5 separate regions of the Homo sapiens genome follow, and regions 1, 2, 3 and 4 are each linked to region 5. Evidence: promoter capture Hi-C in human tissues and cell types (Jung and others, 2019). All regions are on one chromosome and are shown on one strand. The core of a region is centred on a gene start or on the middle of the fragment in contact, and the rest is flanking DNA. Distances in the headings are between cores, read along the strand shown.

Region 1 (2,700 bases), core at 8-2,507, 580 kb after region 5:
ATGAGGAAAGTGAGGCCCAGAGAAGCCCTGTAACTTGCCCACAGTCACACAGCAATTAAGGGCCCAGTCTTGCTAAGAACCCAGGTCTCTCAAACAGCAGATCCTCCACCCCAGGATCCCTGAACACAGCGGCATCGCCTCCTACCTCGGTCGGGAAGCCCACCCCCCACCCACCAGACCGAGGATTCCAAAAGGGGGCGAAGGCGGAGAGCAAAGGGGGCTGCGCCCACCCGGAGCCCCGCGGCGGCCCAGCGCGGCCCGCCCTCTCGTTGCCTTGGAGGCAGCCCCTGCGGGCACTCGCGGTCAAAGGCAGGATTTCCGTCGGGGCGGCAGCAATTCCCGGATCCAGCGGGGAGCGCGGGCCGAGACCGCCGCGGGCGCGGAGGGGGCGCCCGGAGAGGCCTGTCCCTGCCGAGGGCGGGGACTTCCCCAGGAAGCGGGGACCCACGCCTCGCGCGCCCGGCAGGAGTCCCCTGCAGCCCGGAACCTACCGCAAGGGCGGGCCGAGAGGGTCGCGGGGCCGCGGTCGCGGCCGCTAACGTTACCCTGCGGGCTGTGGGCTTCACCCCGACTTCGGCCGGCTCGGAAGAGGGGAACTTCCTGGACCCGCAATTGCACCCCAGGTTCTCCGTCCTCCAGAAGTCGTTCTCCTCAACCCCCTTCCCGCCAGCTCCCTCTCCTGTTCCCTCCAGCACCCCCACCCATTTCCCCTCTCCTGGACCCATCAGACCCGTCGGCTTCTCCCCAAAGTCCCACTCTCACGATCCCTTCAGTTTCTCCCCCAGACCGTCCTGGGGATTCCCCTTAATCCTTCTCCCCCACCTCAGCCCCCTTCCTAAACTCTTATCAGTCCCCTCCATTTTACCCACTAGACCTTTTTGGGGGTCCCTTTGGTCGGCTTCCCCCGTGCTCCCCTCCGCCCTCTCCTCCAGGTTTATCAGCCTTGCTTTTCAGGTCGCCCGTTTTCCTCCTTAGGCCTTTTCGGGCTGGGGTCCCTTTGGCTGTCACCTTGCTCATGTGTCCCCCGACCCCCAGGTTCAGGCTTCTCTTCCCGTGTACCCCCAGTCCTCTCTCCAGAGCCTCGAGGGGGAGGGCACTGCTTGACCTGCCCAGTCCCCACCCGACGCTGTCGCTTACCTGGAGCCCAATTCTGCCCGGCCCCGGGGTGAGCCAGCCGGGGCTCCAGCAGCCGCGAGTGCCGGCGTGCGGGGAGAACTGGGGTGCTGCCCGCCTCTGACCGCCGCCCCTGCTGGGCAGGGAGGAGGAAGCCGCCTCGGACTTCTCTTATTGCAGTCACGGCCGGCGGGCGGTGATGGTGGCAGGGAGACAGTCACGCCCTAGCCCCAAGCCAGCTCCCCGCAGCGAGGAGGCGCCCCCAGATCCTAGGCCCACCCGCCCCCACCTTCCTCCTCCCTGGTTTACGGGAGGTCGGCTCTGTCACCCTCCAGACCTGAGTCCCCAGCCCGGCCTTCCCAAAAGCCCCCTCCAAAAGCGCAGTTTCAGCACCCCCGAAGCACCTGCTCTTTTAGGATCATTGAATTGGAGGTTAAGAGGGGCTTTTCTCCATCACTGAGGACCAGATCGGGACTGGCCTTACTCGAGTTCTCACAGCCAGTTGACTTCAGACTGCTGTCACCAGAGCCACTGGACATGGATCACATGGACCCTGTCAGCACGCCTTCCCTTCCTCAGGGGCTGAGCACTGGGGACACAGGGCTGTTAAGGGTGGTGAGCAGCAGAAGACCCTTCCCTTAGGAAACTGCCTTTCAGAGGAGTGGGAAGGGTGTCAGCCTCCCCCAGGCACCCAAGTTTTAGAAAAACTGAGTAACTGGCTGGGGGCAGTGGCTCAGCCTGTAATCCCAGCACTTTGGGAGGTTGGGTGGGAGGATTGCTTGAGCCCAGGAATTCCAGACCAGCCTAGGCAGCATAGGGAGACACCATCTCTACCAAAAAAAATTTTTCTTAAGTTAGCTCGGTGTGGTGGTGTGCACCTGTGGTCCCAGCTACTGCAGAGGCAGAGGTGGAAGGATCCCTCGAGTCAGGCAGGTCGAGGCTGCAGTGAGCTGTGATTGAGCTACTGCACTCTACCTTGGGTGACAGAGCAAGACCCTGCCTTAAAAAAAAAAAACACAAAAAAAGAATGTGGGTTTTGTTGCAGAAAATGACTTTTTTTAAAAAAAAGAAAGAAAAGGCCGGGTGCAGCGGCTCACGCCTGTAATCCCAGCACTTTGGGAGGCCGAGGCGGGTGGATCACGATGTTAGGAGATCAAGACCGTCCTGGCTAACACAGTGAAAGCCCATCTCTACTAAAAATCAAAAAATTAGCCGGGCGTGGTGGCGGGCGCCTGTAGTCTCAGCTACTCAGGAGGCTGAGGCAGGAGAATGGTGTGAACCCGGGAGGCGGAGCTTGCAGTGAGCCGAGATGGCGCCACTGCACTCCAGCCTGGGCGACAGAGCGAGACTCCGTCTCAAGAAAAAAAAAAAAAAAAAAAAAAAGGAAGAAAAACTGAGTATCTTAGAACATGTGGAAAAAGATTTTTAAAAACAAAAAGAGAAACGGTAGCATCCTCTATCAGTTCCAGTCTCTCTGTCTGATAGGGATCCCTGACCCCTCCTCAATCTGGGGTTCAGTCCCCACTCCCACCACTGTTACTTCAGCCTTAAAGCAAGAACCCGGAATATCCCTCCTGTCCAGGAGAG
Region 2 (2,700 bases), core at 40-2,539, 540 kb after region 5:
CCCCGAGAGCCAGTGGATCCTAGGGATTTGGGGGTTGGAGGGGAGGGGCTCCTCCCTCCGCAGTCTCCCCTTTTCCCAGCGCCGATCCTAAAATCCAGCCTTGTTCTCCGCTCCCACGGTCCCCCCTTCATTCCCCCCCCCCCCACATTCTCAGCAAGCTGGAGAGCAAATTGCAGTTTTAAATCCAAAGGCGGAGGGAGGGGGAAGGAGGAGGGGGCGCGCGGCAGCGCTGGGCGCGCACCTCGCCCCCGAGCCGGGGGAGCCGCGGGGCGGCCAGGAAACCCGAGAACCCCCCCTCCCCGCCCCCCCTCCCCGTCCACCTCCCCCTCCCCCTTCCCGGCGCTGCCTGCCAGGCTTCGAGCCGAGCCCAGCCGAGCCGCGGGCCCCGGTGGAAACAAAGACCGATCGCACCGCGGGCACCGCAGCCACCGGGTCCAGCGGACCGGACCGGGGGACGCAGGCCCCCCCCGTGCGCTGCACAAAAGAGCCTGGCCGGCCGGTCCCCAGCGGGGGTCTGGGGCTGGGGAGGAGGCGCCACTCACCGGAGTGCTGGGCTGCCGGCTCCGTGGGTCCGAGCCAGGCGAGGGGTTTTGGGGGACGTCTGTCTTCCGGCGGTGGCAGCGACGCGGGCGCCCGGCTGCTGAGGAGAGGAGTCGTGGAGGAGCCCTGAGCCGCCCGCCGTCGCTGACAGCATGGCTCGCGCCTCGGCTCACATTCTCCGCCGCTAACTCCGCTGGACACGGCCCCCCGCTCCCGCGGCGCCCCCCCACCTCGATCACTCCTTCGCTCTCTCTGCGCCCCCCTCGCCCTCCCGCCGCGCACACACTCTCCCAGCCCTGGACACCCCCGCCCCCACCCCCCCCAATAGCAAACCTGGGAGGGAACGCGCCCCGCGTAGTCCTCCTGCTCCTCCTCCTCCGCCCTCCTCCCTCCCGCTCTCTCTGGCTGTCTGTCTGTCTCTCAGACTGTCTCTATTTCTCGCTCTCTCTGCCTTTCTCTGCTCTCCAAGCTGGGTGGGAAAAGGAAATGAGGACAGAAAGCAGACGCTGGCTTTGGGTGGTGGTAGCTGGATTCCCTCTCTCCCTCCCTCCCCCTCCTCCCCTCCCTCCTCCTGCCTTCTGCTCTCTCCGCTGCGAGCGGGGCTGAGCGCAGCCTGGCGGGTGGCTCGCTCTGCCCGCCCGCCCGCCTGTCTGTCTGTCTGGTCCGCCTCGCTCGCTCCCTCCCTCCGTCTCTCGCCCTCGCCCTGCCTGCCTGCCTCTCTCCGTCTCCGCCGCCGCCGCCGCTGCCTCTGCGAGCTCGCCTTACCTTCGCCGCTCACCATCCGGAACCCCAGGGGGGAGCGCGCGCGCGGCACGCCGGGACTTGTAGTCCCCGCCCCGGCCGCTCCGCGCGCGGGGAGGGCGGGGCCGCGCCGGCTGCTCCGACGGCGCGGCCAGGAGCCCCGGGGACCCCGCGCCTGGGGCTCGTCTGGCTGGAGCGCGTCCTCGTTTACCAACGGGCGAAGATCCTCCCCAAGGGTTAAGAATGGTCCCTGTGTTCCTTGTCTCCACCGGGGGGCTCTGGATCGAGCGGAGGTTGCGGGTGGGAGTGAAGGGGCGGGGTCTGAGAGTGGAATGGGAGTGGAATAGGGAACCAGGGGATTAGCCAAAGGGGCTGCGACTTTCTGGGGCGTCCCAATTAAATGGGAGGGGGAGAGGGCAGAGGAGAGGACCGGCTCTCTCAATCTGGGGACGTTATCCTTTTCTGAAAAGGTTTCTTATTGAGTAAAGCTCAAGTATATATGGCGGGAGGGCTGCTGGGGCGGGGGAGCGGGGGAGACCCAGCCAGCGCTGCTTCCTCACTCAGTGACCCCTCCTCTCAAACTCCGACCTCGGTTTCGCCCTTGCAACTCCCAGCTTTCCTATATGTCCAAGGGCGGCGAGGGCTCAAAAGTCCTGGATAATCCGCAGATAGAACACACACACCCTTTTCCGAATTCTGCTGAGCATTTGCGTTGTGTCAGGAAGCAGGATTCAGATTGAACGGTGCTGACCTCCTGCCGCGGCCGGGGGCTGGGCTCAGCACTTTCACCTACCTCCTCTTCAGGTCACATGTGTTCTCCAGCCCCTGCCTAGCCTATCCCACAGATGGGAATGTGCGCTGCTTGGGGGCCTTGTTACCGCCCCCGGAGATGGCTGAACTGCTGCGGTAAAATAGTGCTGTTATTTCCATTTTAGAGATGGGGGCACTGAGGTCCAGGTTCTCCAGTTAGCAAGTGGCTGAACCCAGCTGGATTTGAACCAGGGTCTGACTAACTCCAAACCCCACAAGCTTAACCCCTGGGCTATGACAAGGAGTTGTGACTCCCTCCATTTCTGTAACTGACCTTCTCTCCCTGTGTCTGTGTGTCCTTTCTTGGCACTTCAACAAATGTTAACTGAGGTATGCAGGGCTTGCAAGGGACACGGAGATGAATAATGCATAGTGGCTGTCGTGTCCTGTGTCCTAGGTGTCTACCAACGCCGGCCCTGACTGGCCCTGCGGCGGTCCCACCTCACTGGACCACCTCATCTGTGTGTCTGATGTTCCACACCCTGTGTCTGCTGGCCTTGTCTATCTTGCTCCAGGTCTGAAGTTCCTAGAGCAGTGCCTTTGTCTCTGGCCTACCTGTTTCTGACTCTTCCTTTGGCCTTGCAGGGTGTTGGCCAGTGTGTGACAAAG
Region 3 (2,700 bases), core at 24-2,523, 670 kb after region 5:
AACGAGGCCGTGAGAAGTTCAGTGATAGATCCAAGGTCATGTAGTTAGTTGTGGAACAGTGATTTGGAAACTTTGCTTTCTGATCCTAATGATTAATGCACATCTTTGGGGGATCCTACAAGGAAGCAGCCAGATTTGGGTTCAGAGAGAGTAAATTTTTTTTGTTGAGGCAGGGAAATAGAAGCCATTAAGTCAGTTTTTAATTGTAAAAAGCGCACGTTGAGGTAAAACTGCAATTAGTCCTGTACGGGTGGTTGGCAGAGCCAAGAGTAACCTATGCCCAAGAGCAGCTACAAGGCAGGACTTGGATAGGTCAGCAGTGCAGGAAGCTTTGCCAACACCTCAAGAACAAGAAGTCTGTCATTCCTTGGGCAGCTCCTATACATGCCAAGCTGGAGCCAAAGAGAGGCAGGGGAGCCCGGAGGGCGTGGCTTGCCTTCCGGAAGTCAGGCCTCGTCAGGAATCACCAGGTGGTTGCTTGCGAGAGAAGCTGGGGGTGAAACCGGAGAAAACAAAGTAGGAAGCAGGTCTGGGCCAATTGCAGCCCACTCTGATGGGGGCCTGCAGGCCACCGGACGCCTGAATATCTGTCCAATCCCTCCTGGAAGGACTGCCATCTCTTTAGTCCCTCTTCCGCAGCATAGGGGTGCTCTCTCTGGGGCTCTCCTTTTCTCTCCTAAGGCCCACAGCCCCACAGTTCCCTATTTAGGTGTCTTAAATTGAGGACACACTTCTAAATTGTCCCTCAGAGTCTCGTCTCCTCCTTTGAGCGAGGCTGGGCGGGCTCCTCCTGCTCCGATTATGAGGAACTTCTTTCCCAAGCTCCCCACCTTCTTTGGGCTTGGACGGCTGCAGAGTTCCAGTTAACTGTGCGCCGCCTTCGTTCCAATTGTACCCCTCGTGCTCCCAGAGGGCAGCTCCATGGAAACCAAAACATCACAAATCCCCGAAGGTATCGCGAGAAGCGCAGATGCGCCTGAGGCCGTGGAGAGGCGGAGCGAGGGCGGGAACGCTGAGCAAGTAGGGCGGAGCCTAAGCTCTTCCGAGGTCCCGGCCGGGAGCCTGTCCCCTCCAGGTGGCGCCCCCGCGTGACTGCGCTTTACATAATCGCGGCCTGGAGCGTCACAGTGGCGTACTCCAGGCCAGACCGAATCAGAGTGGGCGAAAGCTCCGTGTTCCGCCCCTTCCCACTTGATCGACGTCAAAGCCCACCAGTGAGCGGGCGTCTAGAGTCGCCGTGCCCGCCCCAGCCCGCCCGGGTCCGCCCCGACCCGCCTGCGCCCGCCCGCCTGCCGCAGCCAGCAGCCTGCAGCCGCCGCCGGGTTGTGCCTCAGACTGTCAGATAAATCGGCGGGCCGGGCCGGCGGGTCGGTGAGCGCGGCCCGGGCCGGACATGGCGGCGCTCTACGCCTGCACCAAGTGCCACCAGCGCTTCCCCTTCGAGGCGCTGTCTCAGGGGCAGCAGCTGTGCAAGGTGCGCGGGCTGGGGCGGCGGCCGGGAACTGGGGACGCAGGAGGCGCGGCCCGGAGCTCCAGATTCTGTGGGGACGCCCGGCGGGGTCCCCGGAGCAGGGTGTGGCAGGCCCGCCAGGCTGAGGAGCCGCACCCACCCCGCTGGGGGCCGGCGGGGCACGTGCGGGAGCCGGGACCCGGTCCAGGCTCCCGCGGCCGGCGTGTCCGGGTGCTTAGCAACCGTGGGGATTGTTCTCGGACCCCGTGAGGTCGGGGGAGGGACAGCGGGTCCCCTGCTTGCCCTGACTGGTCGCCTTCGGGATCCCTTTGCGCTGCCTCCCCCGCCGCCGCGGTCTCCCTGGTGGGGACCTCCTGCCCCTCCTGGGACTGAACTCCAAAGTTGGGTGCTGCCTTGGAGGAATGTGTCGAACTCGGGCTCCTCACGGGCACTTTTCGACCAGTTTCAGAATCGGAGGTAGCAAGGCTTGATTTTTTTTTTTTTTTTAAGCATCTCACTTTTCGGCCAGTCTCAGAATCGGAGGCAGCAAGGCTTTATGTTTTAAAAAAGCCCCACAGTCAGGCTCACAGATCCGAGGGATCACTTCTCAGCATCCAGTTGGTGGTCTTCGGTCTTCCCTGACTAGCTGCTGATCAGTTTTTGCTCCTGAAGGTCCAACTTCTCTTTTTCTTTTAAGTTGCTTTATCCCACTTTTACTTTTTAAGTGACTAGAGGTGCTGTGAGGCAACAGTTAAAAAGTCACCAAACTGGCTGAAGAATAATGTTGAGGTTATCCAATAATCCAGTTTGTGTCTCTGATTTGGATAACTCATAATTGTCACTTTTGCCTCAGATGGTCATGACTTTCCATTTGCCAGTTTTTATATACCAGGTCTGGGGGAATGCAAGTGCTTGAGTGCCCTTTTTGGCCTCAAAATATGTATATATGATTTTAAGGAAGTTATGTATATATAAATAATAATTTTAATCCAGCACTTTCATTTCACAAGTAAACCGCAAAATCACACAGTGGCAGAAGAACCAGGCCTGGAATTCAGGGCTTCTGATTCCCAGTCTGGGACTTGTTCATATATATGTTTGTTTTACAATTTATGGCTAGTTCCATATAATCCATATAAGTTCTTACTTAACTCCCACATCAACAGTAGGGAAGTGATGCCAGTATTACAGAGGAGAAAAATAAGGCCCAGAAAGTTTAAGTGACTCACTCAAGCATAGTAGCTATGCTA
Region 4 (2,700 bases), core at 92-2,591, 610 kb after region 5:
AATGCCAGCCATCAGTCAACTTATTAGACAGTTATCACTCAAAAGATATTTATCACTTTGAAGATTCCAAGGATTTTAGGAGTTGTATGCCAGGAACTGGGGGATGAAAAAATATATTTTACAATATCACAAGGGATAAAGGTCACACAGCAAATTGTGCAACATGGGTACACATTCAAGACAGTCAGAATTCATGAACCTATGCTCTTTCCTTTATACCACAAAACTGGAAAATGCATATGCCCTCAGACTCACCTCTAATATGATCTTTGTCAGATCAATGCTATTTTCTTAAGTTAAAAAGAAAAACAAGAAACTCCTCTCATGTATTGAGTACTTAGCACTTTATGGCACGCAGTCCACTTGTACCTATAACAACACCACGAAGTAGGTACCATTGTTATCAACCACATGTTATAGATAAGGAAACTGAAGCTCAGAGAGGTTAAGTAATATTCCCAAGGCTGCCTAGCCAGGTCATGGCAAAGTCAGGGTTTAAACCCACAATTGGCTAATACCCAAGCCCACATTTTTTTTTTTTTTTTTTTGAGATGGAGTCTTTCTCTGTCGCCCAGGCTGGAGTGCAGTGGCGCAATCTCATCTCACTGCAAGCTCCACCTCCCAGGTTCATGCCATTCTCCTGCCTGCCTCAGCCTCCCGAGTAGCTGAGACTACAGGCGCCCACCACCAAGCCCGGCTAATTTTTTTTGTATTTTTAGTAGAGACAGGGTTTCACTGTGTTAGCCAGGATGGTCTCGATCTCCTGACCTCGTGATCCGTGGGTCTCGGCCTCCCAAAGTGCTGGGATTACAGGCGTGAACCACCACGCCCGGCCACCAAGCCCACATTTTTAACAACCACTCCAGATGGCTTCATCTATCCTTAAAGATGAACTCACTGTCACATTGGATCCTATAATAAAGGGGATTCTAAAATCATCCAGTCCTTTGAGCAGCAAAGGCAACTTAACTTTCCTTTTACAGAGGAAGTAATTAAGGCTCCAAGAGGTGACAGTGTTAAGGCCACAGATCGCTGATATTGCACCTGTAAGCTGGGTCTCATGCCACTTGGGGTTTTGCATCCCATCTCCCTAAAAATCTCCAACCCATCCTCTTAGACAAGTCCCAGCCCAGAGCACTAAAAGGGACCCAGGAGTGCTGCCTCCCAGGAGAAGGGGCCTCCTGGCTCTCAGAACATGAGATTTACAGGCAGACAGGCAGCCTGGCAGAGGGTGGCAGCTTGATGCCCACACTTCATAGCTCCTGAGTTTACCTTGGAGGAGAGAAGAGAAGCAATCTTCAGCCCGGAGCCTGCTGATAGATGGGCACAGCAGCGAGTAAACGGTTCTCCGGCTGAAGGCTGGCTTTTTATCATCACTTGTGGATCCTCCCACGTCTCACCCTAGGCAGCCAATCCCTGTCGGAGTTTCTATTTCTGCACTCTGCAGTTTCATTTTCCCCTCTCTCCCAGCTCCTGCACTCTGCAGAGTTTCATTTTCCCCTCTCTCCCAGCTCCGCCCAGCGGGAACATTTGTGTGCTGCCTGCTGGCAGAAAAATGCACTTCAAGCTGAGGACTTTTGGAGCCGCTAAGGGTATTCAAAGCATGTCACACTATGATGAGAGCCACGGCCATACTGGGCTTAGTGAAGCCTGATCACCAGCTCCCCCTGGGGCACACAGGCCTTTCACCATTCAGTCCAATTAGTAAACAACACCTATCATTTATTGAGCACTTGCTGCATGCCAGGGTCTGTGCAAAGTGCTCTATTTACATGATCTTTTTCCAATCCCACAGTAGTCATGTGACATACCATATGCTGTTTATAAACCCCCAGAACTTTGGAAATTAAGTCACTTTGTTCCATTGTTCTCTCAGGCTGGCTGCTTCTGGGTCATGGGCATATGGTAAGACCAGTGAAGCCTGTGTTCATGTGGCCATCATGATAGATCTTGAGTTTCAAGATGGGTCCCCTGGCCCTAGGTAATGAACTGAGCATTCTTTAAAGCCTTTGGATGGTGATGCTTGAAGTGCTATGGGTCAGAAATGCAACCTCTATTTGGAGAACATAGAAATTCCAGTAAGGATGAATCATTGCCTTCTCCCAAGTGGAAGGGGTCTGAAATAATTGACCTGCCACCAGATGGCTGGCTATTCTCATTGAGAAATTTTGCCATATTGCTACCTGCTGCTGGCAGATTGGCTATATTTTGGCAATTGCCAGATCAGTTTTGGTGAGAGGGAGCCCAAGTTGTTGGACTCATTTCTAACCCCCATCCTTACCACCTTGGACACTCATAGGTCTATTGCAAGGCAATAGTGAGGCTAAGTTTAGAGGCTGGCTGACATCCACAGGATGGGACATCCTGGCCATTGGGCTGTAGAGCCTCCTCTGCAGCAGATGATCTCTGGTCAGCATTAACATGAGACATAGAGATCCAGGTGCTTTATGCCCATTCAGAGTTCATTCTTATGCCCCTAACCCACACCTGCTTATTCCCAATCTTCCAATCTTGTTCCATCCATGCCTTTGACCAACCAGCCAAGCCATTTGCCTCTTATTAGGAATTGGTGTATGTCTGTACTTCAGTCCATCTCTCTCTCTCTCTCTCTGCATACAGAGGGAACAACACGGTATACTGCTCCTAGTTCTGCCCCCTGGGAGGATTCACTATTATTCAGTGCCACCCCCAAATGGGGCT
Region 5 (2,700 bases), core at 57-2,556:
CATCCTACCTCTACAGAATGCTTGGCACCCCCACCAATGTTCCTAGACTCCATCTCAGGACCAAGGTAGTGTAGACCCAAAGCCCGGCCCTATCCTGGCTCCCAAGCATCCCACAGCCTCTGGGGTAGAGGTGGTTAGAGGCACCAGCTCTAGACCTTGGCTGCCTTCTGTCTGCCCTCAGGGTCTGCTCAGATCAGGACACCCCCTCCCCCAGGCTGGGGCTCAGCCTCAGCATCCTTGGCAGGGCTCCCCACAGGGGCATTTCCACAACTTTCCAGCCCTGGCCTCCTGTTCAAGGGTTCGGCCTCAGGCAGGACTAGAGCTGAGTTGCAGAGGAGGAGGAGGAGCGGGGAGAGAGCCGAGTAGTTCAGGTTGCCGCAGGGGAGACAGGAGGGAGGAGAAGAGAAGGAGGGGAGGGAGCGAAGGTCCTCAGAACCCAAGTGCGGGGCAGCCTCAGGAAGGTGACTTCTGTTATTCTCCCTGTGTGCTGTGTCTTTAGGAAAATCCCCCTCACACGACAGCCCAACAGCCTTATACCCGCAGTTGCTCTGGGAGCAGGGGAAAATGTCCTGCAGTTCTTGCCCCTCATTTGGGTCAACTCCAGGACAGAAGTAAAGGCGACAGCTGCAAGGAATCAGCAGAAGCAGGACAGCAGCCATGAGCACATGAGCCCCCAGAGCTGGCAGAAACCTTGGAGGCTTTGTGTAGCTACAGTGATGGCCACGTCTGGGCTGGCACTCACCTTATGCCAGTCTCTAGGGAGGAGCCCGCATTTGCAGGCTGGGTTACATCTTTTCCCCTCTTCCACGCTGGGATTCTTTTTTTTTTTTTTTTTTTTTTTTGAGACAGAGTCTCGCTCTGTCGCCCAGGCTGGAGTGCAGTGGTGCGATCTCGGCTCACTGCAAACTCCGCCTCCCAGGTTCAAGCAATTCTCCTGCCTCAGCCTCCGGAGTAGCTGGGATTACAGGCACCCACCCCCATGCCCGGCTAATTTTTGTATTTTTAGTAGAGACAGGGTTTCGCCATGTTGGCCAAGCTAGTCTCAAACTCCTGACCTCAGGTGATCCGCCTGCCTTGGCCTCCCAAAGTGCGGGGATTACAAGCATGAGCCACCGTGCCCGGCCTGGAAATTGTTTTTTTTTTTAAACCCTCAGGTGATTCTGACTCTCCTGGAACCTGAGAACCACCAGTCTACGGGAACAGAGCCCTGCTTTGGGTCAGGTGTGTATAACTATGGTATTCCCTTTCTTCTCTGCCTCTATTGTTGATGTTGTTTTTTTGTTTTTTGTTTTTTTTTGAAACGGAGTCTCGCTGTTGCCCAGGCTGGAGTGCAGTGGCGCAATCTCGGCTCACTACAATCTCCGCCTCTGGGGTTCACGCCATTCTCCTGCCTCAGCCTCCCGAGTAGCTGGTAAGGGAGGAGACCACCCCTCACATTGTCTTATGCCCAATTTCTGCCTCCAAAGAAAGAAGTAAAAACTAAAAGGCAGAAATGAAATCCACAGGCAGACAGCCCGGCGCTGCACCCTGGGCCTGGTAGTTAAAGATCGACCCCTGACCTAATCAGTTATGTTGTCTATAGATTACAGACATTGTATAGAAATGCACTGTGAAAATCCCTATCTGTTTTGTTCCGATCTAGTTACCAGTGCATGCAGACCCCAGTCACGTACCCCTTGCTTGCTCAATCAATCCCGACCCCCTCACACGCACCCTCCTTAGAGTTGTGAGCCCTTAAAAGGGATAGGAATTGCTCACTCGGGGAGCTCGGCTCTCGAGACAGGAGTCTTGCCGATGCCCCCAGCCGATTAAACCCCTTCCTTCAACTCGGTGTCTGAGGAGTTTTGTCTGCAGCTCGTCCTGCTACACTGGGACTACAGGCGCTCGCCACCACGCCCGGCTAATTTTTTATATTTTTTAGTAGAGGCAGGGTTTCACCGTGTTAGCCAGGATGGTCTCGATTGCCTGACCTCATGATCCGCCTGCCTTGGCCTCCCAAAGTGTTGGGATTACAGGCGTGAGCCACCGCGCCCGGCCCCACTCTCTACCTCTGTTTGTTTAGGGGCAGGCATAGAATCCCATTCTAGTCAATGAGACAGAAAGGGGTTCTGGAAAGTTCCCCCACCCCCTTATAAAACAAGGAGGACGTCTTCAAGGAGGACGTCTGAGGAGAAGCTTTGCCGTGGCCTTTTGCCTTTGGATGCTGCCAGAGGGGTTAGAAGGCGGAGCTCCACAGTCAGGCAGCTGGGGTGTGTATCCTAGCGGGGAGAGCAAGAGACAGTGGGACAAAAATAATAACAGTAATAGCAGCAATGCTTCTTGAGGACTTTCCGCATGGCAGGCCCTATTCTAAGCACCTCATGTAGCATATTTTACCCTCAAACAGTCCTGAGGTAGGTTCTGTTATTGCGATTTTATAAATGAGGAAACTGAAGCACAGACAAGTTTAAATAACTCGTTCAAAGTCATACAGCTCATACATGGAGGCCAGCATGCAGGCCAGGTGTGTGGGGTATGGGCATTGCGGGCTACTTTAGGGACCCTGACCTTTTCCTCAGCATAGTGGGAAGCTGGTGAAAGGTTTTAAGCAGGGGTGGCCCCTCTGATTTACCTTTTTTTTTTTTTTTTTTTTTTTGAGACAGTGTCTCACTCTGTTGCCCAGGCTGGAGCGCACTGGTGAGATCTTGGCTCACTGCAGCC

The links. Contacts are between HindIII fragments. The study calls those that stand out against the background at their distance.
Region 1: a contact is called between the fragment with the promoter of FGR here and a fragment that was not itself captured in region 5, in 4 of the 25 tissues and cell types used here (H1 embryonic stem cells, dorsolateral prefrontal cortex, lymphoblastoid cells and 1 more).
Region 2: the fragment with the promoter of AHDC1 here is called in contact with a fragment that was not itself captured in region 5 in 6 of the 25 tissues and cell types used here (H1 embryonic stem cells, lymphoblastoid cells, mesenchymal stem cells and 3 more).
Region 3: the fragment with the promoter of FAM76A here is called in contact with a fragment that was not itself captured in region 5 in 2 of the 25 tissues and cell types used here (dorsolateral prefrontal cortex and lymphoblastoid cells).
Region 4: the fragment with the promoter of IFI6 here is called in contact with a fragment that was not itself captured in region 5 in 2 of the 25 tissues and cell types used here (IMR-90 fibroblasts and dorsolateral prefrontal cortex).

The regions. Positions count from the first base shown.
Region 1 is chr1:27,633,928-27,636,627 of GRCh38, forward strand. It overlaps FGR (FGR proto-oncogene, Src family tyrosine kinase), which reads right to left and starts at 1,258. Exons shown (of 13, transcript NM_005248.3): 1 at 1,138-1,258. RefSeq lists a silencer at 334-383. The HindIII fragment of the contact is 29,896 bases long and covers 1-2,700 here.
Region 2 is chr1:27,602,855-27,605,554 of GRCh38, forward strand. It overlaps AHDC1 (AT-hook DNA binding motif containing 1), which reads right to left and starts at 1,290. Exons shown (of 9, transcript NM_001371928.1): 1 at 1,252-1,290; 2 at 874-1,009; 3 at 543-640. RefSeq lists silencers at 465-544, 1,095-1,634. The HindIII fragment of the contact is 10,400 bases long and covers 1-2,700 here.
Region 3 is chr1:27,724,688-27,727,387 of GRCh38, forward strand. FAM76A (family with sequence similarity 76 member A) reads left to right here and starts at 1,274. Exons shown (of 9, transcript NM_152660.3): 1 at 1,274-1,474. The coding sequence starts at 1,394. RefSeq lists silencers at 618-1,260, 1,099-1,798. The HindIII fragment of the contact is 12,090 bases long and covers 1-2,700 here.
Region 4 is chr1:27,670,851-27,673,550 of GRCh38, forward strand. It overlaps IFI6 (interferon alpha inducible protein 6), which reads right to left and starts at 1,342. Exons shown (of 5, transcript NM_002038.4): 1 at 1,273-1,342. RefSeq lists an enhancer at 1,374-1,713. The HindIII fragment of the contact is 16,144 bases long and covers 1-2,700 here.
Region 5 is chr1:27,058,860-27,061,559 of GRCh38, forward strand. LOC101928391 (a long non-coding RNA gene) reads left to right here. Exons shown (of 8, transcript XR_007065559.1): 7 at 1,155-1,221. Among named protein-coding and RNA genes, the nearest start is that of TENT5B, 47 kb to the left of the region's middle. RefSeq lists a silencer at 199-493. The HindIII fragment of the contact is 6,810 bases long and covers 1-2,700 here.